Regions from separate parts of the Homo sapiens genome. Here all the other regions are linked to region 4. Evidence: promoter capture Hi-C in 16 types of primary human blood cells and fetal thymus (Javierre and others, 2016). All regions are on one chromosome and are shown on one strand. Each heading gives the region's core, a stretch centred on a gene start or on the middle of the fragment in contact. The rest is flanking DNA. Distances are from core to core; before and after follow the strand shown.

The links. Contacts are between HindIII fragments. The CHiCAGO score rates a contact against its expected background, and 5 or more counts as called.
Region 1: a contact is called between the fragment with the promoter of ZNF22 here and the fragment with the promoter of MAPK8 in region 4, in 6 of 17 cell types (activated CD4 T cells, non-activated CD4 T cells, total CD4 T cells and 3 more). The highest score is 17.6, in activated CD4 T cells.
Region 2: a contact is called between a fragment that was not itself captured here and the fragment with the promoter of MAPK8 in region 4, in 1 of 17 cell types (naive CD8 T cells). The highest score is 5.7, in naive CD8 T cells.
Region 3: a contact is called between the fragment with the promoter of ZNF32-AS2 here and the fragment with the promoter of MAPK8 in region 4, in 4 of 17 cell types (total CD4 T cells, non-activated CD4 T cells, total CD8 T cells and 1 more). The highest score is 15.3, in total CD4 T cells.
Region 5: a contact is called between a fragment that was not itself captured here and the fragment with the promoter of MAPK8 in region 4, in 4 of 17 cell types (activated CD4 T cells, naive CD8 T cells, total CD4 T cells and 1 more). The highest score is 9.1, in activated CD4 T cells.

Annotation. Positions count from the first base shown.
Region 1 is chr10:44,999,528-45,002,227 of GRCh38, reverse strand. ZNF22 (zinc finger protein 22) reads right to left here and starts at 1,305. Exons shown (of 2, transcript NM_006963.5): 1 at 1,250-1,305. LOC124902530 reads right to left here. Exons shown (of 3, transcript XM_047426129.1): 3 at 1-1,448. The coding sequence ends at 819. It overlaps ZNF22-AS1 (ZNF22 antisense RNA 1), which reads left to right and starts at 1,425. Exons shown (of 4, transcript NR_126421.2): 1 at 1,425-1,698; 2 at 1,812-1,942. RefSeq lists an enhancer at 689-1,189 and a silencer at 916-1,265. The HindIII fragment of the contact is 6,687 bases long and covers 1-2,700 here.
Region 2 is chr10:51,702,636-51,705,335 of GRCh38, reverse strand. The region is part of intron 3 of PRKG1 (protein kinase cGMP-dependent 1); the gene reads right to left. Among named protein-coding and RNA genes, the nearest start is that of CSTF2T, 4.4 kb to the right of the region's middle. The HindIII fragment of the contact is 1,192 bases long and covers 747-1,938 here.
Region 3 is chr10:43,644,589-43,647,288 of GRCh38, reverse strand. ZNF32-AS2 (ZNF32 antisense RNA 2) reads right to left here and starts at 1,347. Exons shown (of 3, transcript NR_047558.1): 1 at 992-1,347; 2 at 80-177. It overlaps ZNF32 (zinc finger protein 32), which reads left to right. Exons shown (of 3, transcript NM_006973.3): 2 at 1,087-1,225; 3 at 2,488-2,700. The coding sequence starts at 1,156. The region is part of intron 1 of ZNF32-AS3 (ZNF32 antisense RNA 3); the gene reads right to left. ZNF32-AS1 (ZNF32 antisense RNA 1) reads right to left here. Exons shown (of 2, transcript NR_047557.1): 2 at 2,242-2,439. RefSeq lists an enhancer at 454-1,653. The HindIII fragment of the contact is 3,514 bases long and covers 1-2,700 here.
Region 4 is chr10:48,305,405-48,308,104 of GRCh38, reverse strand. It overlaps MAPK8 (mitogen-activated protein kinase 8), which reads right to left and starts at 1,428. Exons shown (of 12, transcript NM_001323329.2): 1 at 1,284-1,428. RefSeq lists a silencer at 848-1,797. The HindIII fragment of the contact is 3,503 bases long and covers 1-2,700 here.
Region 5 is chr10:44,960,770-44,963,469 of GRCh38, reverse strand. All of the region lies in intron 1 of RASSF4 (Ras association domain family member 4), which reads right to left. Among named protein-coding and RNA genes, the nearest start is that of RASSF4, 2.3 kb to the right of the region's middle. The HindIII fragment of the contact is 515 bases long and covers 1,044-1,558 here.

The DNA.
Region 1 (2,700 bases), core at 56-2,555, 3.3 Mb after region 4:
TTTTCATTATCTTGTGTCAGAATGTGGAATTTAAAATAGAAACAATTATTCTGGGTTTCTTTGCATACAAACATATAAAGCAAATAAATGAAAACAAAAACATAATTTTTCTTGCCTTCCTTTCATCTTATTGTATAATTGAGACTTTAGGTCCAGGACTTTATCTGGATATTTAATAATTACATCAGCTGTAATTATGGTCAGCGTAAGAGTAAGCCGCATATAACACAAGATTACAGTTAGGACTACCCACTCCTTAACTTAAGCAAATATTTACAGAACATCTACCACACAGGAGACATTGTGTTAGGTACATGGTGTTGGTGTTGCTTTTTTTTTTTTTTAATAACTATAATGGTCATTATACATAAAAGCACACGCATTTAATACAATGGAAGTCAGATCTAGTCAGAAACTCAGACTGTCAAATCCACCTACGGATGAGGCAATCATACTAGTATGTGCCAGACACTGTGTAACTTGATTCTGTGCTAGCTCTTTAATTCTCCTGGCACCTTTATGCAGTTATTTCCGTTTTAAGTTAAGGAAACGAGGGCACAATGCTAGAAGGCACTGGCCGGGTTCCCAGACCCTAGCAGTTTGACTCCAGAGCCTGTACTCTTAGTGGCAGCCACATCTTCCATTGCTCAGTCCAGCGCGGCGACCCGTGCTTTGCATAGCTCCCCAGCAGGGGCAAGCACGAAGTTAAACCTGAGTGACAGAAGCTGCTGTTCTTGCACACCCAGCTAACTGGAATGTGCCTCAGTTTCCTCGTAAAATGGGGAGGGTAATGATAAAGTGGCAACACCATCAAGATGTTAGAAGTTGCAATGAGTCTGAATCTGAAAACCGCTCAGAGCAGCCCTGTGCTGCCTAAGCATTTGTTCCACGTATCTAGTCCTCGAACGCTCCGAGCGACGGAAGGGGCCGGGGCTGCTGCTCACCCGCCCAGTTCCACCCGCCGCGGGCCGCGCCTCGCCCGGGCCCCCAGTCCAAGCCTCCCGTTCCCAGCACTCCGCCGGCCGCTCCTCATTGACCCGGCCCGCCCGCCGCGCAGGCCGCGGCCCCACCCTGGGCCCGCGTGGCCCTCCCGCCCCCGCCCGGCGGCCAGGCCCTGCCCGGAGGCGGGAGACGCAAGCCACGCCATCGCCCGGGCCCGCGCCGCCCTCGTTGCGGCCAGCGCGCTCCCGAGCGGACCCGAGTATCCGACGCAGGCCCCGAGCGCCCCAAGTGCCCCAATCCCACTCACCGCGCGGGACCAGCCACCACTCTGGCTCGCTGGGCGCCTCCCGCGCCGCCGGAAGTGAGGGCCTCGCCGCGCTCTGGCGCCGCCGCGGTCGCTCTAGGAAAGTGGCGGAGCGACCCTCTATGGTCCCGGGCCCACCCGAAAGCGTTGTTCGTTTCTTCCTGTGGTTTTGTTTTCTCCTCCCCCCAACTCGGAAGGCGTCCTGTGACCCCCGGGACCTCAAGAGCTGTAACCGCCCCTGTGTGTGGTCGAGGCTTTTGAAACCAAACTCTAGCCTCTCCAACCTAGAAACTGCATACTTTCCACAAATTTTGAGATTTTTGAGACCCTGGTACTTTTCACGAAGTCACCTTAATTATCACCAAAAAGCTCCTGCAAGATGGGAGTGGTTATACTCCATTTACAGGAAAGGAACCAAGGCTCAGAGAAGAAATGTGCTCCGTTCACCGTGTGTAAGCGGACGACCCAGAATTGGAATGGTTCTTTGTGGCTCCAAAGTCTGATTTCAACACACCCCTTTTGTTGCTCATTAGTAATGATCTCTCTTTGTTCTTATTCCTTCCAGGCTCCTCCTCAGCCATCCTGGCCGTGCTCAGTCATCTGACCAGCTGACCTCCGTGTTCCCCCACTCCCTGGGGAGCTCCTCCGCCTTTTGGCTTCCAATGCTATTGCTGCATGCTGAAGACTCCCGCATTGGTAACTCCAGTCTGACTGTGGGACATAAATGTTATTGAACTTTAGACTTGTATATCGAACTGATTACTCAAGAGCTGCATTTGCATGTGTAATGGACATCCCAAACCTAACATACCCCCCAAATGAATTCCTGATATCTACCTAACCTGTTCTTGCAACAGTCTTCTTCCCAGGGATGGGTGAAGATCCCATCATCTTTCCAGTTGCTCAAGCCAAAAACCTTGATGTCACTGTTGTCTCTTCTTTTTTTCATCCAAAATTCACCTGTGATTTATCCACAAATTCTGTCGGCTTCATCGTTAAAATATATTCATTATCAAGCCACTTTCAACACTTCCACTGCTATAACCACCAAGCCACCTTCATCCACCTTCTGGATTATTATATTGGCTTCCAGACGGGTTGCCCTACAGTCTATTCACGGCCCCAGAGTAATCCTCTTAAACCTAAGTTAGATCATGTCATTCATTTGTTCAAAACCTTCAAAGGCTTCCCAACTTATTAGAGCAAAGCCAAGGACCTCGCAGTGGCACCCGATGCCTCTCATGATCTGTCTCTTTAGTTCTTTATTGTGTCTGCAGTGCTGAAAACAGTGCTCAGCAGGGAACAGACACTCAGTAAATAGCTGTTGAATGAATGAATTTATAAGATGCCTTATTGTTTACAAAGTACTTTTACATCTTATCTTCTGGTTATTCATCTTCACCATAGTCTCATGAAGCACAGATTATCATATCTGTCTTGCAAATCAGTAAACT
Region 2 (2,700 bases), core at 93-2,592, 3.4 Mb before region 4:
ACCAGGCATTGTGGAGAATATCAATCAGATATGGATTTTATGGTAATACAAGAATATTGATACCTCTAATATAGAAGATAATGAGTACCAAACCAGTACTCTAAATGGAAGTCTTTGAGGTGAGCATTGAAGAACAGAAAGATTTAAACATGGGGGAGGGAAGAGAAGAAGAGGAAAAAAGGAAGCATCCCTGACAAATAGTATCACAAAAAGCTAGGAGGTGAAAAAATACAGATCATGTATGATAAAAAGTGAGTGGTACAATTTAGCCAGAGGAGAATATGTGAAGGGATGGAGAGAAGTAATGAGAATGAAGCTACGTAACAGAGTGTGTTATATGTAGGAAGAACAACCACCACAATTTAGATTAAAAGTTATAAGGTATTAAAAAAGAACAGCCTAGGTAGAAAATATATAGAAAAGGATTAGATAAGTTTGGTATTCTTAAGCCTCTGCCATTATTATTCTATGTTCATGTTTCAGGGGGTGGTGAAGGAAGCCTACTGACTCTCACATCAAGTTCACATTCATGAATCTGAACTTCAAAACCTTTTATAATCTGTCCCAGAAGCCCATCTTTTGTCACACTCCTCACCAACTCTCTTGGTTTCCTCTGAGGCCGTAAAAAACACCAGGTCCCAATTTCTTGCGTTGGCTATTACTAGCTTCTGGTTTATTTTCTTCATCTTCTACCTATCTATGCCAGATTATAACCCTTCCCTAAATCTCATTTCCATCAGAAAGCTTTCCTTGATAATCTAAAACATATCACTCTCTTCCATCTCTACATACTTTATTGCATATCCATTTCATCAAATGGCAACATGGAAGAACTATCACTGACCTAGGAATAAAATGACAAGGGTCCTGGCAGCATGTCTTGTCTTTGATTTGAGGCACGTTATTCAATGCCACAGGCTCCGTCCTTGGTAAAATGAAATATTTGTGAATTAGCAAACTTTAAAGTCATTTCCTGTCATTCATTCAACAAATATATAATGAACATCCACCTGTGCTGAGCTCTATCCCAGGTGCTGAGGATACAGAGGTGAAAACAAAATATCTATCTATCTATCTATCTATCTGTCTGTCTGTCTGTCTATCTATCATCTATCAGCTACTATACTATAATTGCATTCTTTTTATTTAATTTAATTTTATTTATTTATTTATTTAATTTTTTTTTTTTTTTTTGAGACAGTTTCACTCTGTTGCCCAGGCTGGAGTGCAGTGGTGCGATCTCAGCTCACTGCAACATCCACATCCCGGGTTCAAGCAATCCTCAAACCTTGGCCTCCAAATAGCTGAGATTAGAAGCATGCACCACCACACCTGGTTAATTTTTGTATTTTTAGTAGACACGGGGTTTCACCATTTCACCATGTTGGCCGGGCTGGTCTTGAACTCCTGACCAAATGATCCACCCACCTCCGCCTTCCAAAGTGCCAGGATTACAGGCGTGAGTCACTGTGCCTGGCAACTATGATTGCAATCTTATAATGTAGTGGTTCTCAAAATTGAGCTTGCATTAGAATTACCTGGAAAACTTGTTCAAAGATTTCTCTGTTTCTGATGCAATAGATTTGGAGTAGGGCCCCAAACTTTTAATTTCTAAGATGTTTCCTGGTGATGCTGATGCCACTGAACCAAGGACCACATTTACAGACCTTCTTTTCTGGCAGACTATTGTTTTCACTGCTGTATTGTCAGTGCTTGAAATAAATATTGATGGAATGAAATAATAAATTTGAGGCACTTAGTTAACTGATAAAGGGGGATATATAATGATTTTACAGTTTAGAAGGAAAATCACAATTTTGCTGAAAGGTAAAGGAGTTACTATAATCAGAAAGGTACAAGGTATATCAAGGTTTATATCCAAAGAAAAACAAAATTACTTCTAACCTAGGGGAAAGGGTAGAAAGGTCATAGAAAGCTTTGTGGAGTAGTTTATTTGAGCTATTCCTTGAAGGACCCGTACACTTATTTCAAAAATGACTGTCATTACTCAAAATATTTGTAGTTCTTGTCTTTGGAATTTGTCTACTGAATCAATAGTGAATCTTTTCTTTTTTCCTTACACTCTATAGTGAATCTTTTTTTAAAAAATTCCTTCAAAGTGTATAGAATTTTTGTATTCTGATGTAAGGTTTGATATTTGGAATTAGCTAAGCATGATATTTTTGCCAAATCTGGTCAGGAAGTTGGGTGATTTTGTTGCATAATCCTGTTCTTTGTTAAAAATAAAGTATACTTTTCAGTTAATGTACCGATTTTCTAGTATGACTTATAAATGAAGGCCCAAAGCAATTTCAGGGTAGAAGTTCAAAAATCAGTCTGAGGCCAGGTGCAATGGCTCATGCCTGTAATGCCAACTCTTTGGGAGACTGAGGCAAGCAGATCGCTTGAGCTCAGGAGTTCAAGACCAGCCTGGCCAACACGGTGAAACCCCGTCTCTACAAAACGCACAAAAAATTAGCCATGAGTAGTGGCACACGCCTGTAGTCTTTACTCGGGAGGCTAAGGCAGGAGAATTGCTTGAGCTCAGGAGGCAGAGGTTGCAGTGAACCAAGATCACGCCATCGCACTCCAGCCTGGCTGACAGGAGTGAAATCCTGTGTCAAAAAAAAAAAAATTCATTTTGAACAATGGATTAAGTTTGTAGTTTCTGAAAGTGATTAAAGGACAGTTTCCATTTGG
Region 3 (2,700 bases), core at 98-2,597, 4.7 Mb after region 4:
GGCAGGATAATGAGACCCGATCTCTACAAAAAAAAGTTAAAATAATTTTTAAAAATTAGCCAGGCTTGGTGGTGCTTACCTGTAGTCCTAGTTATTTGGGAGGCTGAAGTGGGAGGATCCGTTGAGTCCAGGAGTTCAAAGTCACAGCAAGCTGTAATTGAGTCACTGTACTCCAGCCTGGGCAACAGAGCAAAATCTTGACTCAGAATTTTAAAAAAATTAAAAAATAATTTAGAGCACATACAAGAGGATTCCTAGGATCTGAAAGAGCACTTCAATCTGGTCAAACTCTCTTCCTTTCTGTTCAATTTTATAAGCATTCTGACCAGCTCTTTAGTGATTAGGAACTAGACAACTGTCTAATGTAAGAGCATACATTTTGGATCCAGAAAGTCTTGGATTTGAACCTTTGCTCCACTTTGACTCCTTATTTTCTGTGGGTTTCTGGGCAAGTTACTTAACCTAGTTGGAGTGCCTTGGGCTTGGAGTCCAGAGTAGGTCTTTCTTTTCCAAGAATTGACAAGTGTTTACACTTGGTCAGAACTGGTATTCTTGTATCTTCAAGAGCAAGAGAAAGGCGAGTCTGGGTCTGGAGCCTCCTAAGAATTGTTCAGTGGTAACAAATGGACTCTCTTGTTAAGTCTTTGTAACTACAGATAACTGGAGAGCTGATTGGCTCCAACCAATCATGAAGGCTGAAATGTTGTTTTCTTAGATTCTGAATTCCTCTGGGGCTTGGAGGGAAGAAAGTAGTAGGTGGTTAGGTGGGGAACCAAAATGGAAGATCCCAATTACATGCCAAGACCAAAGTGTAAACAGGAGTGACTATTAACTTGGGATTGGCAGGAAGAGATATATGTTTATGTGTTCTCTGCTTTCCCACATCCTGCTTCCTCCTAGACTCATTTGTGTGTGGTCCTGGTACCTTTGGGCCCATTTTGCAGTGATATTTTAGTAACTGACATTATGTCAAACAATCTAGGTTTCTTACATTCACTTATGTCTCAACAACTGTTGACTTTTTCCTTCTCACATATCAATTATTCTGCCCTTTCCTGTTTGTTTCTGTTTGTTTTTCTCCCTCAGGTGCTCAGGAACAGCCCATGGAAGAATCATATGAAGAGGTGGTGACTGAGGTCGTAAGCAGGAGTGGACATGTTTGGATTTCCAACAGCTACCCTGCTGGACTGTCATGGAAGATATGCCCAGAATGTAGCGTTCTTCAGTGAGTGAGTCAGTTGATGGCTGGATGCGCTCAGCTCACAGATATTCAGTGTCCCTGTTCTCAGCACTGGTCGGCAGTCTGAGGAAGCAGAGGAGACCTTGCTTTGGTAGAGCTTGCTGTTCCTAGGGTTATAAGAAAAGCCTGTGAGCTGGAGTTAGAAGTAATAGTAGAAACAGAGCAAGAGAACCATCTTGATATGGAGGTAGCGTTGAAGTAGTCTCTGAGAATGAATGAGCAGCTTAAATCTCAGCACTGTCTCTGAATAAGGCAAGGGAACAAGGAGAAGATTACCCTGGAGTGACAGACACCAAGAAAACTGTTAATGGTGATGAATGGACCCATATTTAAAGTGCACCAGGAGGCTCAGATGCAGGGCAGTATTCGGAAAAAAAAAAGTCAATATCTGCATAGAGAATAACTTCCAAACCAAAATTGATTTCAGTTTTGCCATAGCTTAGTAGACTGAAAATAGCAAGGATTTTAATGGGAAAAATTCCTTGGATCAGATTCTATAATTGCCATGGCTAGATCTGCAGTATCAGACAGGTTATTTAACTTCCTTAAGCTCCAGGTTCGTCTGTAAAATAGGACAATAAGTTCTATCTTGTAGGGTTGCAGGGATTAGCAATGATAGATGTAAAGTACCCAGGATTGTGCTACATATTTTCTGAGGTCATGGTGCTTATTCTATTGTCAGAACAGATTGGACAGAGGTGGATTTCTGAAGAAGCAAATGCAGCTTCAGTTTTAGGACCCCTCACTTGGATTGGTCTCTCCAAGACCCTGTGCTTAATTTTATACATTTTCTTAAAAGGGTGCCTCTAAAATGGGAAAGTTTTAGGCCTTATATAGCCTGGATCCACACCTGTTTTGGAGTCAGATAAAAGTTGGGTATGGGGCTCTGTGTGATTCTGTATAGTTTTCTAAATTTTCTGAGCCTGTTTTCTGACCTGTAAAATAGAGAAAACCATGTCTATCTTACAAGGTTATTTGTTGGCCTAAATTAAATTTAGAGGCAGTACACTGCTATGGAGAATGCCTATTTGAGTCAGCTCTAACTTACCTAGCTCTGTGACCTTTGACAGGCTCCCTTTGCTCCCATTATCTGTATCACTCTCATGGCATTGTTTTCAGGATTGCATTGTCTATGCAAAGAATAAGGCCTGGCACATCATAAGCACTCAAAGTATTATGTTTCTTTTTCCCTATTCTAACTCAGCATTATTGGTGCTTCTTATATGACTTCCCTCTCATTTTATCAGATGTGATGACTGAAGCCCACCACAAATATGACCACTCTGAGGCTACAGGATCCTCAAGCTGGGATATCCAAAATTCTTTCAGAAGAGAGAAGCTGGAACAAAAATCCCCAGATTCGAAGACACTACAGGAAGATTCACCTGGAGTGAGACAAAGGGTCTATGAGTGCCAGGAGTGTGGAAAATCCTTCCGGCAAAAAGGTAGTCTAACGTTAC
Region 4 (2,700 bases), core at 179-2,678:
GGCTGCAAGACTGGAAAAAATAAAATTTAGAAATAAATAAAAGCTGTTGTATATTTAGACCAAATCTAATTCTACTTCCTATTACACTTGAACTTCCAGATATACTGCTTAAAAAATGACCCAGAATATAACCATACCTTCCTTAACAGACATCACTTATGTAACTGTCTCATTTAAAGGTCCATCTATTATACTTCAGTCAAAGCATCCTCTTCCATGAAAGGATACTTTACCTTCACACCAAACCTCTTCATCTGAGTACGGTACTAAACAGCTGCTGAATGAATGAATGAATGAAAAAACAGATGTTCTAATTGCCAAGGAGGTACTTGCTGGATGCTTATCTCAAAACACAATGGACTGACGGACCAGAATTCTACTGGAAAGATCGCTGGATTTCAGAGGTAAAAATAGTAATCACTGGACAATGCCATGTAGTCAACATGTTATTAAATTCGCAGTAAAGACCAAGCAGGGAACTTTCAGAAATAAAAACGGAAAGTGTTCATCAGGGTACTTTAAAATGGACTTGGTTCTACCATCTCTGAATCGGGAACACAAATGCGAGACAAAGAGATGGGAGGGTGGGGTGAAAAAGTCAAAAGGTCACCACCGATGACCCTCAAGAGAAATGCGCGCTGACCACCGAAGCTCGGGCCAAGCTGGATGGACACCTCCCACCCGAGCCACGGGCCTGGGCTCTCTGCCCTGCAGCCCAGAGCTGCAGGCCACTCTGGCCCTTTTCAGCGCTGCTGCCTGCGTTCGCCCAGAACGTTAGCACAAAGAAAGCATCGAGAAGCAAAATACGGTCCCTATGGGCGCGGGGCAGGCTTGGGGACCTGCCGGCAGAAGCGCTCTCCCCGGCTCCCCGCCGCCCCGGAGGCAGCCAGGGCGCGGCGGGCCGCAAAGACACCTCCGTCCGACCCTTGCCGAAGTGTTTCAGAACTTGCCACCCACCCCCCCGCTCCATTTTCTTCTCCCGCCGCGGAGGCAGGACCCACGCGAAGAGGACGCGAGAGGACAGGCGGGCGGGGCTCGCGGCGGCAGGCGGGCTGGCGGGCAGCGGAGCGCACCCAGGTCCCGCAGCCCCACGCCCCCTCGGCTGGCCCCCGCCTCCGCGCCGCTATTGTTCCCGCGCCGCCCCCGCCCACCGCGCGCTCCCGCCCCCACTCCCAGGAGGGGGTTACGGCTGAGGAGAAGGCGGCGGCGGCGGCAGCGGCACAATAACATAAACACGACGGGGCCGCCTGCCGTCCCGGCCCTGCGGCGTCCGCCGCACTCACCCGGCAGCGCAGCGAACGGCGACAGGGAAGCCCGCCAGCGGGGACAGGGGCCGTCCGGGGTGGTCGCCGCGGCCGTTACCCAGCGCTGCTCGCGGCTCCGCAATCCAAGCCGCGTCGTCCGGCCTCGGCCGCTCGGCTGAGTAACAGAGACGCGGGCCGTCACCGCGCACGCCCGCGCACGTCATCGCGCAGGGCCCCGCCCCCGCGCCTCCCGAGCGGCCGGCGGGGCGGGGCAGCCCCGGGGCCCGGATTGCGGGGGCGGGGCCGCCGCCCGGGGACGGCGCTACTCCAGGGGTTACGAGAGGACTTGCGGAGGTCGCTTGGAGGCGGAGCCGCGGAGAGAGCCTCCGAGGGCTGTGGGTGAGGGGCGTGGCCTGGAGCGGGAGGGGCGGGCCCTGTGGCGGCACGTGGCGGCGCGTGGCCCCAGGGGACCGCATCTGGTTGGCGGCGGTAGCCAGGTCAGAGCTTAAGCCTTCGGGCCTCGTCGGCACAGGGTTGAAGGGCAGGTGCGCTTAGGCCTAACCTGCGCAGCGAACAGGCACCCCCTTCCGGTACACACACCTGAGTGATGAAGAGCTGGTTACCTTGACCGACAATATGTTCCATTCTGAGGACACCTGTCCGGGTCCCAGAAACCTACAGAGAGATAAGTGTTCTCTTCAGCTGCCCGGGAAAAGCTGCCTCCAGTTTTTCCAAAATCCACCTCCTCCGAGATTCCTTGCAAATCCACCTCTTCCCAGATTCCTTGCATTACCTGGTTTACTTCTGAGGCCCCACAAAGCGTGTAAATGTTACAGAAGCGATAAATTGACAAGTCCTTTAAATATCCAACAACGGGTGGAAAGGCGTTTGAACTACCTACACCATTCGGTAGAATACATTTTAGCAATTTAAATGCCATGTGTTCAAGGAATTCTTAACAACATAGGAACATGTTCACAATGTATCATTAAGAGAAAGAAGCAAGAAACAAGTCATATATAGAATGGTCCCACTTAGATACTATATATACACATAGAAAAAACCTGGAAAGAAATACACCAAATTATGTTAACAATGGTTCATCATTGGACTATGGAATAAAGGGTGACTTGGTTCTCGTTTATACTTTGGGTATTTTCTCATGTTTTCCGAGAGGAATAGTTATGTTCACAATCAGAAACAAGTAAGTTACTTTAATAATGAATATATAAATATTTGTTGAATAAATGAATGATTTCAGGTAAACTACTTTCCTATTACATGTGGGGCTGGCCTGTTTCTGGTGATTCTGAAAGGGAACATACAGATGATTATTCATTCATTCTCTTCCCATTTCCTCTCTCCCTCCCTCTCAACCTTCTTAATTTCCTTCCTGCCATCCTTTGTTCCTGCAATAATTATTTATTGCATGCCCATTCAGTGCCAGGCAATACAG
Region 5 (2,700 bases), core at 52-2,551, 3.3 Mb after region 4:
TGAAGCTTTAAAAGGCCCCTCCCAGCACCTGTTCGCCAGCAAATGGCAGGAGCCTGGCCAGTGAAGAAGTTGCAGCGTCTGCCGAAACCAGGTGCCTCTGAGGGGGTACCCTCAGCCAAGCATTTTTGTGGTGAGAGCCGGCTGTCTGGTTGTAGATGGCAGGCGGCGACTCAGCAGCTGCTGCTCCCACCTCCTTCCACACTGCTGTCCCCTCCTGCTGCCCAGTTCCAATCACCAGACCCCTCCTCTCCACTCCCGCCATCATCCCTCTGGCTCAACTCACTCCTCCCTGCCCCAGAAGACTCTGCACTGTCCAGGTGGAGGTGATGGAGACCAGGGGAGTCCAGGAGAGGCGGGCACAGAGCTCCCCTCCACCTCCACTCCCGCCTTGCCCTGGACTGACCACACAGGCCCAGCTCACCTTTACTCCCCGCTGCGGTTCTGGCCTCTCACTGACAGGTCTCTCTGAGTCCAGTCCAGCATCCAGGCCTCCCTGATACAGCTCCCCTTCCTCTGAGAGCCTGGCCCTGAGCAGCCATGTAGATCGCAGACCAGCCTTCCCAGTGGGCAAGACTTCTGGCTTCTGCCCTTGTTTCAAGGCAAAGCAATTTGGGACAAGAAAACCATTTCCAGTCCTCCTGCTCCCCCCTTACACCTTAAACATACATTCTCTGCTCCTGGAACCCCCTGAACCACTCCTCAACTTCCCCACCAACCAGGCTCACCTCTAGCCTATGGAAGAGAAGATCCACAGAAACAAAGATCTTCTTAGCTATGGTTTTCGGGCCAAACGTGCTCAAAATGGGCACTGTCCAATATCCCGATTGCCTGGGGCTGGGAGTGCAATGCAGAGGGGCAGACCCCTCTGGGTGCCTGCTGCTGCAGGGCTGCTCTGGAGGCTCTCTACGGCTGCCCTCACCTGTGCTGTCCACTGCCCCAGGCCTGTGTGCCACATGTCACTGCTGGGGACATAAGGGCCCTGTGAGACAAAAGGGTCCCAGAATCTTTTGGGTCATAGAGTCCTTTGGAGTCTCTTGAAAGCTTAGTGCACTCTCCCCAGAAAATGCATGTATGTGCATGTTGTTGCAATCTGCATCCACGTGCAAACACACACACAATTTGCATATCACTGCAGGGAGATGAGACAGCTCTTGTCCATGTACTCCCAGATCCCCAGATCTTAGGTTTAGAATCTCTGCTGAAACCTGTCACAGCAAGAAAGAGGAGGCAGAGGAACGTTGTAGAGCCTTGCATGTGAGTTTTGCTGTGGCATTAACTTGGCCTGTGATCCTAGCGTGTTGCGCCGTCTCTTGGGCATCAGTTTAGCCAGAGCTGTTGTGGCAGCTGATAGAGAGTCTTCAGGGCTCTTCCCAGCACTGCAGCTATGGGGCTCAATGACACCCCACCCCTGCTTCCCAAGGTCAGGCAGGGCAAAGGGAGGGGGTTCCGGGCCTCTTCCTCAACAGTATATCCTAGGGCAGAAGGTGGGACAGCCAGAAAAGGAGACCCCGGGAACTACAAGTTTCTCTTTTACAAAAATAAGAAAACTGTTGAAGCTTTAGGAAGTGCAGCCACTTCTTATTTGATTTTCTTTATTTTAAAACAATTTCCCCAAACATACTCTGTGAGAGAATAACCACCTAGCCTTTGCAAGGCTCTGGGTTTAAAGCTCTGCTCTGTGACTGCCTGGCTCTGTTACCTTAAGCAAGTCCAGTTCCCTCTCTGAACCTTGGGCTCCTCATCAATTAAATAACTATAATCCTCGATGACTTCTGTGAAGACGAATGAGGAGACCTGTAAGATGGGCCTTGTGTTGGGCTCACCCATAATGAAAAGAGGCTCCCATTACTATTCTTATTGACACTGGGAGTTGGGGGCTCTGGAGAGACTGTGGAGCCCCAGAGATGGGAATGTGAGGCCTGCCTGCAGGAGTGGCCATGAATGAGGAGAGAGTCTGAGCTGACACCTGAAACCAGGCCCCAGACCCCAGGGGCCCAGGGCAGAGGGCTTTCTGGCAGATCCCCTAGTTAGGTCTCCCCTTTGAGGCTTTGCACGTCCAGAATCTGAACTCTGACACACACCCAAGTTTCGTTCATGTTCTTTGTTATCTGTCATGGTCCACTTGGTCCTGACCCAGGGCGACCCTGGACCTTGATTCTGTTCTCGACCTCCAGGCTACCCACTGGAGCTTCATGGTGGAAATACAACCCAATCTCCTGAGTTTCAGACAGACACTTTAATCTGTAGCATCAACCTTTTTGTTGTCAAATCACCAGCACTACACACTGAGAGAATTATGGCTAGAACTAATGACAACAGCCTTCACATACACTGACAAAGTGCTGAAACAGCCCATGACAATTTCCGGCCAGCATTTTTTTAACCTAAGTTTAATGAGTTTCATCTCTCCTCTTCCCTCCCTTCCTCTTTCTCCTCTGACCCTCTCCCTTCCTGTCTTCTCCCCTAACCTGCTGTCCTGGCAGAAGTAGCTAAGGAACCACACAGAGGAACAGAAGGCAGGATGGTCTACATTTACCTGTTACTTCACCAATTCACTTCTAACTTAAAAAAAAATGGTTTCTGGCAACAAATCCTGATTGACACCTTAGTACTGTGGGCAGTTAAACTACAGCAAAGCCAGCGAGGGGCTCCTCTGTGAGTGCAAAGCATAGCTTTGGAGTCTAACCTGCTTGGGTTCAA